Linked DNA regions of Homo sapiens: all the other regions are linked to region 1. Evidence: promoter capture Hi-C in human tissues and cell types (Jung and others, 2019). All regions are on one chromosome and are shown on one strand. The core of a region is centred on a gene start or on the middle of the fragment in contact, and the rest is flanking DNA. Distances in the headings are between cores, read along the strand shown.

Region 1 (4,234 bases), core at 1,037-3,536:
TTATTTTTTGAGACGGAGTTTCGCTCTTGTTGCCCAGGCTGGAGTGCAATGGCATGATCTCGGCTCGCTGCAACCTCCACCTTCTGAGTTCAAGCGATTTTCCTGCCTCAGCCTCCCAAGTAGCTGGAACTACAGGCACTCACCACCATGCCCGGCTAATTTTTGTATTTTTAGTAGAGATGGGGTTTCACCATGTTGGCCAGACTGGTCTTGAACTCCTGACCTCCAGTGATCTGCCCGCCTCGGCCTCCCAAAGTGCTGGGATTACAGGCATGAGACACTGCGCCTGGCCAAGACCAGGAGTTTGAGACCAGCCTGGGAAACAAAGTGAGACCCCCCTGTCTACAGAAAAATTAAAAATTTTAGCTGGGCCTGGTGCCGTGTGCCTGTAGTTCCAGCTACTCAGGAGGCTGAGGTGGGAGGATACCTTGAGCCCAGGATTTCAAGGCTGCAATGAGGCATGATCAGGCCACTGTCCTCTAGCGTGGGTGACAGAGTGAGACCCTGTCTCTAAATAATAATCATAAGAACAACAAGGACCCTCTAAACGCACTGATATCTAAGGTGTATTAAGCGACCAAAAAAAAAAAAAAGAAAATCAAAGTGCAGAAAAACGTTAATAAGAGAAAAAAATATGTCTGTATTGTCTTGAGTGTGAAAAAATAATCTAAAAGCCTATGAAAGAAACTAATCATATTGGTTTCCTGTTGGTGAGGAGGGCTAAGAGCACGGAGACTTTTCCCTATGCTTTCTGTACTTTTTGATTTTGAGATATGTGAATGTAGGTTTCTCTCACTGCTCGAACTTTCACTAACCAAATTACTACATTCCAAATTCTCAAAAACAAATAGATTTACTTAAAAGTAGGCTGGGTGCGGTGTCTCACGCCTGTAATTCCAGCGCTTTGGGAGGCCGAGGCGGGCAGATCACCTGAGGTCGGGAGTTCGAGACCAGCCTGACCAACATGGAGAAACCCCATCTCTACTAAAAATACAAAATTAGCCAGGCGTGGTGGCGAATGCCTGTAATCCCAGCTACTCGGGAGGCTGAGGCAGAAGAATCACTTGAATCTGGGAGGCAGAGGTTGCAGTGAGCCCAGATCATGCCATTGCACTCCAGTCTGGGTAACAAGAGAGAAACTCTGTCTCAAAAAAAAAAAAAAAAAAAAAAGATTTGCTTAAAAGTTAACATCTCCGGCCGGGCGCGGTGGCTCATGCCTGTAATCCCAGCGCTTTGAGAGGCCGAGGCGGGTGGATCACGAGATCAGGAGATTGAGACCATCCTGGCCAAAATGGTGAAACCTCGTCTCTGCTAAAAATACAAAAGTTAGCTGGGGGTGGTAGCGCGCGCCTGTAGTCCCAGCTACTCGGGAGGCTGAGGCAGGAGAATCGCTTGAACCAGGGAGTCGGAGGTTGCAGTGAGCCAAGATCGCGCCGCTGCACTCCAGCCTGGCGACAGAGGGAGACTCCATCTCAAAAAAAAAAAAAAAAAAAAAGTTAACATCTCATCCAAATTTGCACCGAGTAGGAAAACAAAAGTTTAAAACATGAAACAGATGTTACTGAGGCCGAAAGGGTCTCCCAGGCCTGGGAGTCTGCAGCTTTTATGCAATTCTGCCCTCTGGCCACCGCCAGGGAAGAAAGGTTGTCTCCGTCTGCTGCATCGCCTTTGCCCAGCAATGAAGCCCCCAAGACAGCGGCAGCCGGTTGCCTGAACCTTCCTATCCTTGGGGGCACCCAGTGCAGGTGGATGACCCGACTCAACCTCCGCCAGGGCACCCTCGGGGCAGGACGGGTAGCAAGGAGGGGACAGAGATCGGCCCCAGGAGACCACGGAAGATCGCGCTCCTGGGGCCAACTTCAGCAGCGAGAGGCGGCCTTTGCCCACCGCCTCATCCCACCACGCCGCGGTCCTCCAAGAACCTTCCCAGCGGTTCTCTCCTCCTCTCAGGAGTAGAGGCCCTCTGAGACCGACGGGGAGGGACGGCTCGGGCCGGTCATCCGAGGGGCCGCACGGATTCCCTCCTCCGCCCAGCTCCACCCCCTCGAGGGGCGGCGGTCCGGGAGTGGCGACCCGGCTCCCCCATGGCGCGCGCCGTCGGGGCCCCTGGCCAGGCTCCGAGCGGGGTTGGCGGGGAGGGGAGGCGGGAGCGAGGGCGGGCGGTGGGAGGTGGGGGCGGGAAGGTCCGAAGGCGGCGGCCTGAGGCTGCACCGGGCACGGGTCGGCCGCAATCCAGCCTGGGCGGAGCCGGAGTTGCGAGCCGCTGCCTAGAGGCCGAGGAGCTCACAGCTATGGGCTGGAGGCCCCGGAGAGCTCGGGGGACCCCGTTGCTGCTGCTGCTACTACTGCTGCTGCTCTGGCCAGTGCCAGGCGCCGGGGTGCTTCAAGGTGAGGACGCGGGCGGGGTGCGCCCTGAGGGGCAGGCTAGGCGCGGTGGTGGTGGCGGGGATGGGTTCTGCTCAGAGCTCGGGTCAGCGCGCGGAGGGTCTCACGGCCCCGGCACCATACGGCCAGTAGGTCAGGGCGTGGGGACTCTTTGGGGGGGTCTCCGTGGGACCTGCCCAGGGACGCTCAAGTGTGCTTGGGCTGGCCCCGGGCCCGGACTTGCCCACACTGCCCGGCTGCCACTCCGCTGGCAAAGCAGAGGGCATGGCTCCCTCCCCCTCGGGGGCAGCCCAGCCCCCAGCCCATAGCCGTAGCCCCCTCTTCCTGGATTCTCGCTCTCACAACCAGCTTCCATCCGCAGGCCACCGTGTGACCCGCTCCTGCTCCTCCACCCCTTAGGACTCAGCGGGGCTCCGTCCTCTAGGAAGCCCCCATGCCCAAGAGTCCCCCAGAGTCCCTGCTTTGCTCTCAGGCTGCAGAACTAGCTGTGGCCTCCACCCTGCTCACCCCTCGTCCCTCCTCCCAGGGCAGCAGGGCAGTGTGTATGTTGTTTATATTGTTGCCTTGTTTGGTGAGATAGAGAAGGGCCTCTCCAGATAGAAGGTGTCTGTTTAGCAGTGCTCTGGGAAGACTGCAGCTGTCTCCTCGGGGTAACCCCTCCAAACAAAGATGTTAAGATGGGGCTGGAACAACCTCTGCAAGCGGGTGGGAGGATTAGCCAGTCCTGCACAGCAAGTGCCTGGCCGGGAACAGGGAGGGCAACCAGGGAGGGGGCATGCGGGGCTGGGCTGTGCTATGCAGACTGGGCGGTGGCTTCCACAGCACTGTGTGGGGACCAAACAGGTACAGGGGCCTGGTCTGTTCTGGCCCCAGGGGAGGGCCCCAGGCGGTCCACTGCTCCCTCCCCTCTGAGCCCTATCCTGGGGTCAGGGGAGGTGATGGGACCCCTGGGAGAGGGGCGTCTATGTGCCCAATACCAGCCTGGCTCCCTCGGGTTCCACCCCCATTCACCCGGTCACCGGAGCTCCAGCTCCAGCTCCAGCTCTGCCCCTCTCTCCCTCATTGGGGTCAGGGTGCCCGTGGCCAGCACGTGCGCGCAAGGCCATGTGGACAGCACCCACACACCACACTGCACCCACACCACACCTGTGCCCGGGCCCACCCTACCTCTTCCCCAAACCCTTAGAGGCCTAGGAGCAGCAAAGCTTGGTTCTCTACTCTCAGTTAAGTGCTCTCTGGGCTGAGAGACCTCCCCTCCTTCCCCTCCCCCACATCCACTCAGAGCCCTCCCTGCACTGGCCCCTCTAGCCTCCTTTCCAAGGTGGCAGACTCCTCTCGGCCCTCATCTGCCTGATGGCAATTCACTCATCCAATCAAGGAGGGCTTCTTGGAGGAAGGGTCTTTGATGTTTGTAGTCTGGGAGAGAAGGTGGAGGAGAAAAAAGGAGTTGGGGTGGCCTAGCAGGAGCTGAGTCACTTCCACAGGCAGCCATCAGCCCAGCAGGACTGAGGCCAGGGCTGCGTGGAGGGGGGAGGCTGTCTGTTCTGGGAGCTGGGACTGGGTACCGGGGGAAGGAGGGCTGCTGCAGGCTCTGGGTGCCTGGGGCCTGGCTCCTGCAGGGCGGGCCTGTGAGAGTGGTTGGGGCCAGTGGAGGGCTGGGAGCATTCCAGGGGAACATTCCAGGCGCCCTCTGAGTAATGCTTGGCTCTGGGATTCCTCCTAGAGCCCCCTTAGGCACACCCGGCCAGGGAGCACCAAGGCTCCGTCCAGAAGCGTCCCCTCCCCTTGAAGAGATGAGGAGGGGCCTTCTGGGCCAGGGTACCAAAACCCTGCCACCAGGACAGAGTCC
Region 2 (4,234 bases), core at 1,079-3,578, 500 kb before region 1:
GTTTGCACAAGGCGCCGAAAGCCCAGAAAAGAGGCCCAGTGTCAGGGGATCCCACAAAGCTTCCCAGAGGACAGGACCTTTGAACTGGTTCTCGGAAGATGCTGAGTGAACGGACAGGCAAAGGACATTTCAGACAGAGGGAAAGGTGGGGGCAAAAATGTACCAAAGCAGGCCTTGCTCGGGGGACAGTGAGAATTTTGGTACAGCCAGGGCTCGGCCTTGAGAAAGCAGGCTGTCTAGGTGAGGTCTAGGCAAGGTACAAGTTCTTGCACCCCAAGTTTGCATTTGGACTTTATCCTAGTTCCTCTCAAATTCAAGGTGCAAGGCACCAGCTGTGGATCCTGATAAAATGCAGTTTTTATTTATTATTTTTGAGACAGTGTCTCACTCTATTGCCCCAGTTGGAGTGCAGTAACATGATCACAGCTCCACTGCAGCCTCAACTTCCTGGGCTCAAGCAATCCTCCCATCTAAGCCTCCTAAGTAGTTGGGACTACAGGCACACACCACCACACCTGGCTAATTTTTTTTTAAATTTTTTGTTGAGATGGAGGTCTTACTTTGTTGCCCAGGCTGGTCTTGAACTCCTGAGCTCAAGCCATCCTCCCACTTCGGCCTCCCATAGTGCTGGGATTATGGGCAGGAGCCTGCATCCCTGGCCAGAATGCAGTTTTTAATCCAGCAGGTCTGGGGTGGGCTGAGAGTCTGCATTTCTTTTTATTTATTTATTTATTTGTGTGTGTGTGTGTTTAGGGCGCCAGGGGTTGTTGTTTTTTGGTTTTTGTTTTGAGACAGGGTCTCGCTCTGTCACCCAGGCTGGAGTGCAATGGCATGATCTCAACTCACTGCAACCTCCGCCTCCCAGCTTCAAGCAATTCTCATGCCTCAGCCTCCCAAGTAGCTAGAACTACAGGTGTGCACCACCATGCCTGGCTAATTTTGTATTTTTAGTAGAGACAGGGTTTCGCCATGTTGGCCAGGCTGAGAATCTGCATTTCTTTTTATTTATTTATTTATTTGTGTGTGTGTGTGTTTAGGGCGCCAGGGGTTGTTGTTTTTTGGTTTTTGTTTTGAGACAGGGTCTCGCTCTGTCACCCAGGCTGGAGTGCAATGGCATGATCTCAACTCACTGCAACCTCCGCCTCCCAGCTTCAAGCAATTCTCATGCCTCAGCCTCCCAAGTAGCTAGAACTACAGGTGTGCACCACCATGCCTGGCTAATTTTGTATTTTTAGTAGAGACAGGGTTTCGCCATGTTGGCCAGGCTGAGAATCTGCATTTCTAACTAGCTCCCAGGTGAGGCTGGTACTGATCTACCTACCCTGAGTAGTGAGGCTGTAATCCCACCACCAAGGAGCCCACAGAGGCTGTTACACTGAAAGGGGTGTTGTATACTGTGTCAGCCTTGACCTCCTGGGCTCAAGTGATCCTCCCACCTCAGCCTCCCAAGTAGCTGGGACCACTCCCACATCCAACCATTCTCCTCTTTCTCCTCAATAACAAAGTCCTGATTTTTAACTGGGTCCATTGCCATCCAGAATAAAAATGATACTGCCCAGCCTCTGTAGCAGCTAGGTGCAGTCATGTGTCTATGTTCTGGCCAATAAGCATTAAAGTGCACTGTTGCTTAGAGACACAGCTGACTCAGCTCCAAGGGTTCCCTTCTTGCCATCTGCCTTTCCTCTTCCTTCTAGCCTAAGATGCAGATGTGAGAACTGGAGCTTCTGCAGCCCTCTTGGACCACAAGATGGTCTTGAAGATGAGAGCCAGGTGCTAATGATACGGGATCCTGCTGCCTGCCTCCAGATTTCCTTTTGATTTTCCTTGTTTAAGTCACAGTTGTGTTTGCTTTGCTTTGCTTTTTGCTACATGCACTAGTCCTAACTGATGCAAGTGAAAAGAGAAGATTTGCTTTTTAGGAGGATGGCTGTGGCAGCAGAAAGGGCCTTTCTGAGGACCTCTCTCTCTTTAAACACCAGCCCTTTTCTCTCTCCATCTGAGCACCGTTGGGCAGGCATAGTAGATGCTGGTTGACTGAACTCTTCTTCACCAATTATACCAAATAATTGTTTTAAATATAACTGTTGAGTTTTAACATTTACTGTGTGTGTCTACTTGATGGGGGAAACTCAAAATCCACTTTATGGGAGCATAAATATATATTTCAGATTTTTTTTTTTTAGTGTACAGTTGGCATATTGTGGAGCATCAGTAATCTAAACTTTATTTTCTGAAATATATTGGGAAAACATTTCCATTGAATCAGTGCTGTCCAATAGGACATTCCTATCGCTATGTACTTTACTATGGTAACCTCTAGCCACATGTGGCTGTTGAACTTGAAATGTGACTAGTGCAACCAAGGAACAAAAACTTTACTGTATTGGCCAAGTGTGGTGGCTCATTCCTATAATCCTAGCACTTCAGGAGGTTGAGGCGGGAGGACAGCTTGAGCCCAAGAGTTCAAGACCAGCCTAGCAGTATGATGAAACCCCATCTCTACCAAAAAAAAAAAAAAAGTACAAAAATTAGCTGGACATGGTGGCGTGCCGGCATGCCTGTGGTCCCAGCTAGTTGGGAGGCTGAGGTGGGAGGATCACTTGAGCCCAGGAGGTCAAGGCTGCAGTGAGCTGTGATCACACCACTATACCCCAGCCTGAAGTGTAGACAGAGCAAGACCCTGTCTCAAAAAAGAAAAAAAAAATACTGTATTAATTTAAATTTTTAATAAATTAATTTAAATTGAAAGTGGCTGATAGCTACCGTATTGGCCAGCACAGCATGGAATAGCTCAGTTTTCATAACATCAAGAAAACATTTTAAGTTTCAATTTGATTCCATTTTTTCTTCCAGATATTAAGTGCACACTTTTTTCCTTGTGTTCTCTCTCATTACAGAAGCTACTCCATCCCTGCCTCACCTGAGCACCCCTTAGTGAACACTACCCTAGCCCTCCTCACCCTGGACCGGACACACATACAAAATACACCCACAACTCCCCTCCTCACCCCAAACGCCCCGCTTACCGCTGTCTTTGAGCTCTCTGTGTACGGCAGGGGCTTGGCCAGCTTCTCCACATCCGCCCCGCTGGAGCCCACCTGCGTGTATGAATAGGAGCCGCGGAAGTAAGGGTTGCTGCCCCAGGCCGAGCGCAAGATTCGCCGAGGTTTTGGAATGTTGGGGTTCCCTGATGGAGAGTCAGAAAAGCCAAGAGGAGGGAGGATAAGAAATGGCTGCATATGGAAGATGACCCCAAAGGGACAACCCCCCACCCCACCTCCAGGGCTCCGGGAGGACCAGACTGCCAGGGGTAGGCACGGAGGATAGAAGAGGAAGGAGGGAGGCTGGGGCTCGAGCTGTGTACCCACTCAGCGCCTCCTGTGACCCCCGGCAAAACGCTCCACCTTACTTTTCCTATCTATCTGAAAACACATGACACATAATCATGTTTCCCCGCCTAATATCGGGGGTTCTCGTGAGGTCCTCCTGGAATAGTGGGTGAAAAATGTTGAGCTGAAAGACTCAGAGAGTAAAAGGCAAATCCAGCTCTTAGCAACAGAGCACAATGGGCGGTGATCTCTGAGTGTTTTACCATCAGCCTTTAGAAAGGGGGAAGAGACACAGCGCCCATAATTCTGAGTGTGTCAAGTTCTAAACTGTCAGCAACTGAAGAGCCTTTGGCTGAATGTGGCACCCTGCAGTGGCTCTCCCGTGGGGCACAGCATCCGAGCTTCACGGTCTGGGGAGGAGAGAGCTGCCATGGGTCCACCAGAGGAGGGCAGGTGAGGAAGAAGCAGGGTGGGGGAAGCGGGTCGTGGGGCACGTGGCGCACCTGTGAACTGACGCAGCATCTCCGTGCAGATCTCGGCCACTGCCTCGTCATCACACTTCTCCATGACGAGGGCCTCCTCCCCGCAGATCCAGCCGCTCAGCACATGGCCGTAGCGCTCAGGCGGGTAGAGGACATCAAAGCCGCAGATCTTGCGGTACCAGAGCTCAGGTGGGTAGGTGAGGGTGTGGCTCTCTGCTTCGTCCTCCCACACAAACTGTAGGCTGTTGCACTCAGGGCCCCAGAAGGGCTCCTCGAATTCCAGAAAGATCTTGTCGGTGGTGCCAATGCCCAGGCGGTGGATGGCAGCCACCTTCTCTGTGGGCAGGCCTGGCCGGAAGAAACTGGTGTACTGCCTCTTTAGCACACCTAGCGACACGGTCACAATCACATGGTCCGCCGGGA
Region 3 (4,234 bases), core at 1,038-3,537, 340 kb before region 1:
TACAGTAGATGTTATTGGTGTTCTGCCCATACCTTCAGCTGCTATAAATCTCGGTCATAAATAGACCAGAGCTGCCACTTTATCTAAAGAATTGTCCTCAAGTAGGAACTACCTTGCCTGGGAATTCATGGCTTCCTCCCTGGCAGCCCACAGCCAGTGATTGATCAATATATGGATACAAAAGCTGGCCCTCTTGCTTCAAGGTGAGATCAACCCTGTGGTGCAATTCATGCTCCAGGGCTCCCTGTGGGTCAGACTGAGGCTAGACTCCAGCCAAGACCACATCCTTGCTCAGTTCCTTTCCATGCTCTTTCTGGAGGTGGAAAAAGGAGCTTCTTCTGAGGGCCCGCCCGCAATAAATCGCATGCATCTGAATCTGCATCACAGCTTCTGTTTCTAGGGAACCTAAGACATAATCTTTAGCTCTCTGCTCTTGATTAAGAGTAAAGGACTATGAAAAACCCTGAGTGCAGGAACTGGGCTTGTCAACTGTGATTCACCGTAGGGAGACATGGATGGTCGTTTACTGGAAATCTGAATGCCAGTATCCTTCATTCTTTCCCTTTTGGCTGGTCAGAGTGCTCAGAGAAGAGAGGTGGAGAGTAGCTGCCAGTGATTTGGGAAGTGATCAGAGAAGAAAGCTGAGGTTCTCAGCATGCAGTGAGGAAATAGTCACTTAACGCCCCTGTTCTCCACATGCCACCTTTGTCCTCAGCCACGCCTGGTGCCCCAGCCCAGAGATCCTCCTTTTTACTCTCTCCGGAGGTGAAATCTCCAGCCCTCTGCCTGATGAGAGAGAGAAACCTGCTGCTCGGAGAGTGGAAGAGGGGAACTAAGATTTTAACTGCTTCCCAATCACCTTTCACCCAGTTATCCTGATTCTTTGGCTTGCCCAGTACCAGAGATATCTAGGACTGCCAATTCCCATTTTTTTTTCTGTTTTTCTTTCTTTCCCCACCCCCCCTTGGATTTTGCCATGAAAATAGGGCTACTCTTAACTTTCCCTGGGTTTCAGCTTTCTTGGGGCTGCTGAGTCGATTACCACTCACCCATCTGTTTTCTATCTTCCAACTTATTTTTCCCCCACTATTGTCTACTCTGTTCTCTCTGTCCTCATGAGTTTGTGTCTTTAAACAAAATCCCTTTATAATAGTTTTAGTGAGTTTTGGGAGGAGCAAAAGTAGATGGGTGGATTCAATGCACCATCTTAACCTGGAAAAAAACTCCAATGGTATTAGGGAGATGTCTCCTCCCTGCATTCCCCTCCTTGTGAGCCCCTTTGGATGACAGACAGGCAAGTGAGAAACTAAGTAATGGAACCAAAGGCCTGGGATGGAAGCCGTGTCTCCCCATGGACAATGCTGTTCCACTACAGAATCCAAGCTTCTTCCCTCAGTCATGGCCTGAGTCAGCCTTTGAGGGAATAAAGGGCTGGAGTCCAGATTATGATGGCGTAGGTTGGAAGGGTAGGAAGCCAAGAAAAACTAAGGAAGCCTGCCTGGAGGAAGCACTGCAGCAGCAGGAAAAGCAGAAGATACAGAGTCTCTTTATCTGCATGGTGTCCTTATCTCCCAAATGAGAGAATTCATCTCTTCCAACTCTGCATCTATGACTCTGTGGGGATAAAAGTCACTCCAGAAAGCCTGTCTGCTTTCTTGCCCTGTTCCTCTTTCCCGTCTGTTGCTTTGGGATGAGGTGATAATGATTGGGAACTATTTGGGTAGATTGGATAGGTTGAAATGGAGGAAAAAGAAAACCAGCATAGTTCCTTTTTCCTAGAATGAGTTATGGGCAAAGATATATCATTCCACTTTATTCCTTTCTCTTTAAAGCTCAGGCCTAACAGAACCTAGCAGAGAGAAAAGGCAGTGATATAATTGGCTGGGGGAAATTGGAGGGGCAGAAGCTGTGATGATGGTGGTAGCCAAATGGTGGTCACAGCTGTGGGGGTTGTGTAATCAATAACTGGAGGAGCTTAGCAGAGCGGCTTGCTTTGTTCCATAGATGTAACTTGAAAGTACCCTCTGGGAGGCTGAGCTGGGCAGATCACTCAAGGCCAGGATTTTGAGACCAGCCTGGCCAACATGGCAAAACCCTGTCTCTACTAAGAATACAAAATTTAGCTGGGCATGGTGGCACACGCCTGTAATCCCAACTATTCAGGAGGCTGAGGCACAAGAATCACTTGAACAACCAGGAGGCAGAGGTTGCAATGAGTCTAGATGGCGCCACTGCACTCCAGCCTGGGTGACAAGAGTGAGACTCTGTCTCAAAAAAAGAAAAGAAAAGAAAAGAGGGCCAGGCGCGGTGGCTCATGCCTGTAATCCCAGCACTTTGGGAGGCCAAGGCAGGTGGATCACGTGAGGTCGGGAGTTCAAGACCAGCCTGACCAACATGGAGAAACCCCGTCTCTACTAAAAAAATACAAAATTAGCCAGGCATGGTGGCGCATGCCTGTAATCCCAGCTACCTGAGAGGCTGAGGCAGGAGAATCTCTTGAACCCGGGAGGCGGAGGTTGCAGTGAGCTGAGATCATGCCACTGCACTCCTGCCTGGGCAACAAGAGCGAAACTCCGTCTCAAAAAAAAAAAGAAAAGAAAAGCAACCAAGACACTGAAGTCAGTGGAGAAATACTCTGGCCTCCTGGTCATCCAGGCAGACAATGCTGAGGGCTGTTCTACAAGGTTTCTCAGTGGACGCCAAGCCAGACTGAGCCTCAGTTGCCCATGGCAGTAACTGGCCCATCAGCATACCTTACTGTTGGCTTCTCTCCCTTTCACAGCTTGCTTTCCCCATTTCTTCACTCTTATTTCCTGGAATCACCTCCCAAGTAAATTACCTACATCCAAGCCCTTGTCTTAAGATCTGTTCTTGGGAGAATCCACGCTGAGATGGGTATCCTCCAATCTAAAAGTGAGTCTGAGCAGGTTGTTCCACCCCTGGGAAATAGTGCTTCCAGTCTCCTGCATGTGTGGCTGGTCTCAGCTAAAAAGCTCCCACATGAGATCTTGAGAACATTTATATTTTCAGGAGTTCTGGGTGATTGGGCTTGTGTGTGCCAGAAAGGCAACGGGGCTTGTTGGTGGCTGGGTAAACAGAATCCCAGGTTCCCACCTCCTTCGCTGGCTTGTGGGTGGACACACAGCCAGTCCTAAAGGTACCATGCACACAGAAACCTACGCTTTCTCCCCAACTCTTGCTGTTTCACAGTCTTGCACACACATTCTGCATTAAGAAGCAATTCCGGTGGCTCATGCCTGTAATTCCAGCACTTTGGGAGGCCGAGGCGGGTGGATCTTGAGGTCAGGAGTTCGAGACCAGCCTGGCCAAGATGGTGAAACCCTGTCTCTTCTAAAAATACAAAAATTAGCTGGGCGCAGTGGCAGGTGCCTGTAATCCCAACTACTCGGGAGGCTGAGGCAGGAGAATCACTTGAACCCAGGAGGCGGAGGTTACAGTGAGCCAAGATTGCACCACTGCACTCTAGCCTGGGCGACAGAGAGACTTCATCTAAAAAAAAAAAAAGAAGAAGCAATTCCACCCCTCCGTGGGCAGCGTCACGCCCCAGCAAGAGGTCCCCATGGGCTATGAGGAGGAGAGGGCCATTGGGAGGGATCAAGGCAGGAGGAGTCACTTTGGAATTCTTGGATGAAGAGGCTCGGGGAACACAGAACATCTCCTCCTCTACTGGCACAGTCCAACGGGTCAAAGCATTATATGATCAACCCTTAAAGGGGTCATTTAGAACTCTGAATAATTAAGCTTTCAAAGGATTGACCAGTGGGAGGGATGTTTTTCTGAAATCGTGCCATCTCAACAGATGGGGAGGATGGACAGAGGAATGGGGCTATAGGCAACCTTTGATTTCTAGCTTCTGTTTGAAAGACTGATTTTGTCTTGACCAGTCAGGCATTCATTCAACAAACTTGTATTGGGCACCTGATCCAAAGATGACTAAAACCAGCCCCTGTTCTCACTGTTCCAAAATTAGTCAGACGTTTGATTTAAAAGTAGTTGTGATTTCTTTTCCAGGAGTCTTGAAGGACTTCTGACCATATGGGTAGGGACAATTTTCTGAGATGGATTTGGGGTGAGGACATTGCTTAAAAGGAGGTATAAGGGCTGGGCGTGGTGGCTTACACCTGTAATCCCAGCAATTTCGGAGGCCGAGGCAGGTGGATCACCTCAGGTCAGGAGTTTGAGACAAGCCTGACCAACATGGAGAAACCCCGTC

What was found. Contacts are between HindIII fragments. The study calls those that stand out against the background at their distance.
Region 2: a fragment that was not itself captured here is called in contact with the fragment with the promoter of ADAM33 in region 1 in 1 of the 25 tissues and cell types used here (spleen).
Region 3: a contact is called between a fragment that was not itself captured here and the fragment with the promoter of ADAM33 in region 1, in 1 of the 25 tissues and cell types used here (liver).

What each region holds. Positions count from the first base shown.
Region 1 is chr20:3,680,062-3,684,295 of GRCh38, reverse strand. ADAM33 (ADAM metallopeptidase domain 33) reads left to right here and starts at 2,286. Exons shown (of 22, transcript NM_025220.5): 1 at 2,286-2,388. The coding sequence starts at 2,292. RefSeq lists an enhancer at 1,968-2,861. The HindIII fragment of the contact is 20,528 bases long and covers 1-4,234 here.
Region 2 is chr20:4,182,447-4,186,680 of GRCh38, reverse strand. SMOX (spermine oxidase) reads right to left here. Exons shown (of 7, transcript NM_175839.3): 5 at 3,833-4,234; 6 at 3,027-3,187. Among named protein-coding and RNA genes, the nearest start is that of LINC01433, 8.5 kb to the left of the region's middle. The HindIII fragment of the contact is 6,680 bases long and covers 1-4,234 here.
Region 3 is chr20:4,019,318-4,023,551 of GRCh38, reverse strand. No RefSeq gene overlaps it. Among named protein-coding and RNA genes, the nearest start is that of RNF24, 5.9 kb to the right of the region's middle. The HindIII fragment of the contact is 4,326 bases long and covers 125-4,234 here.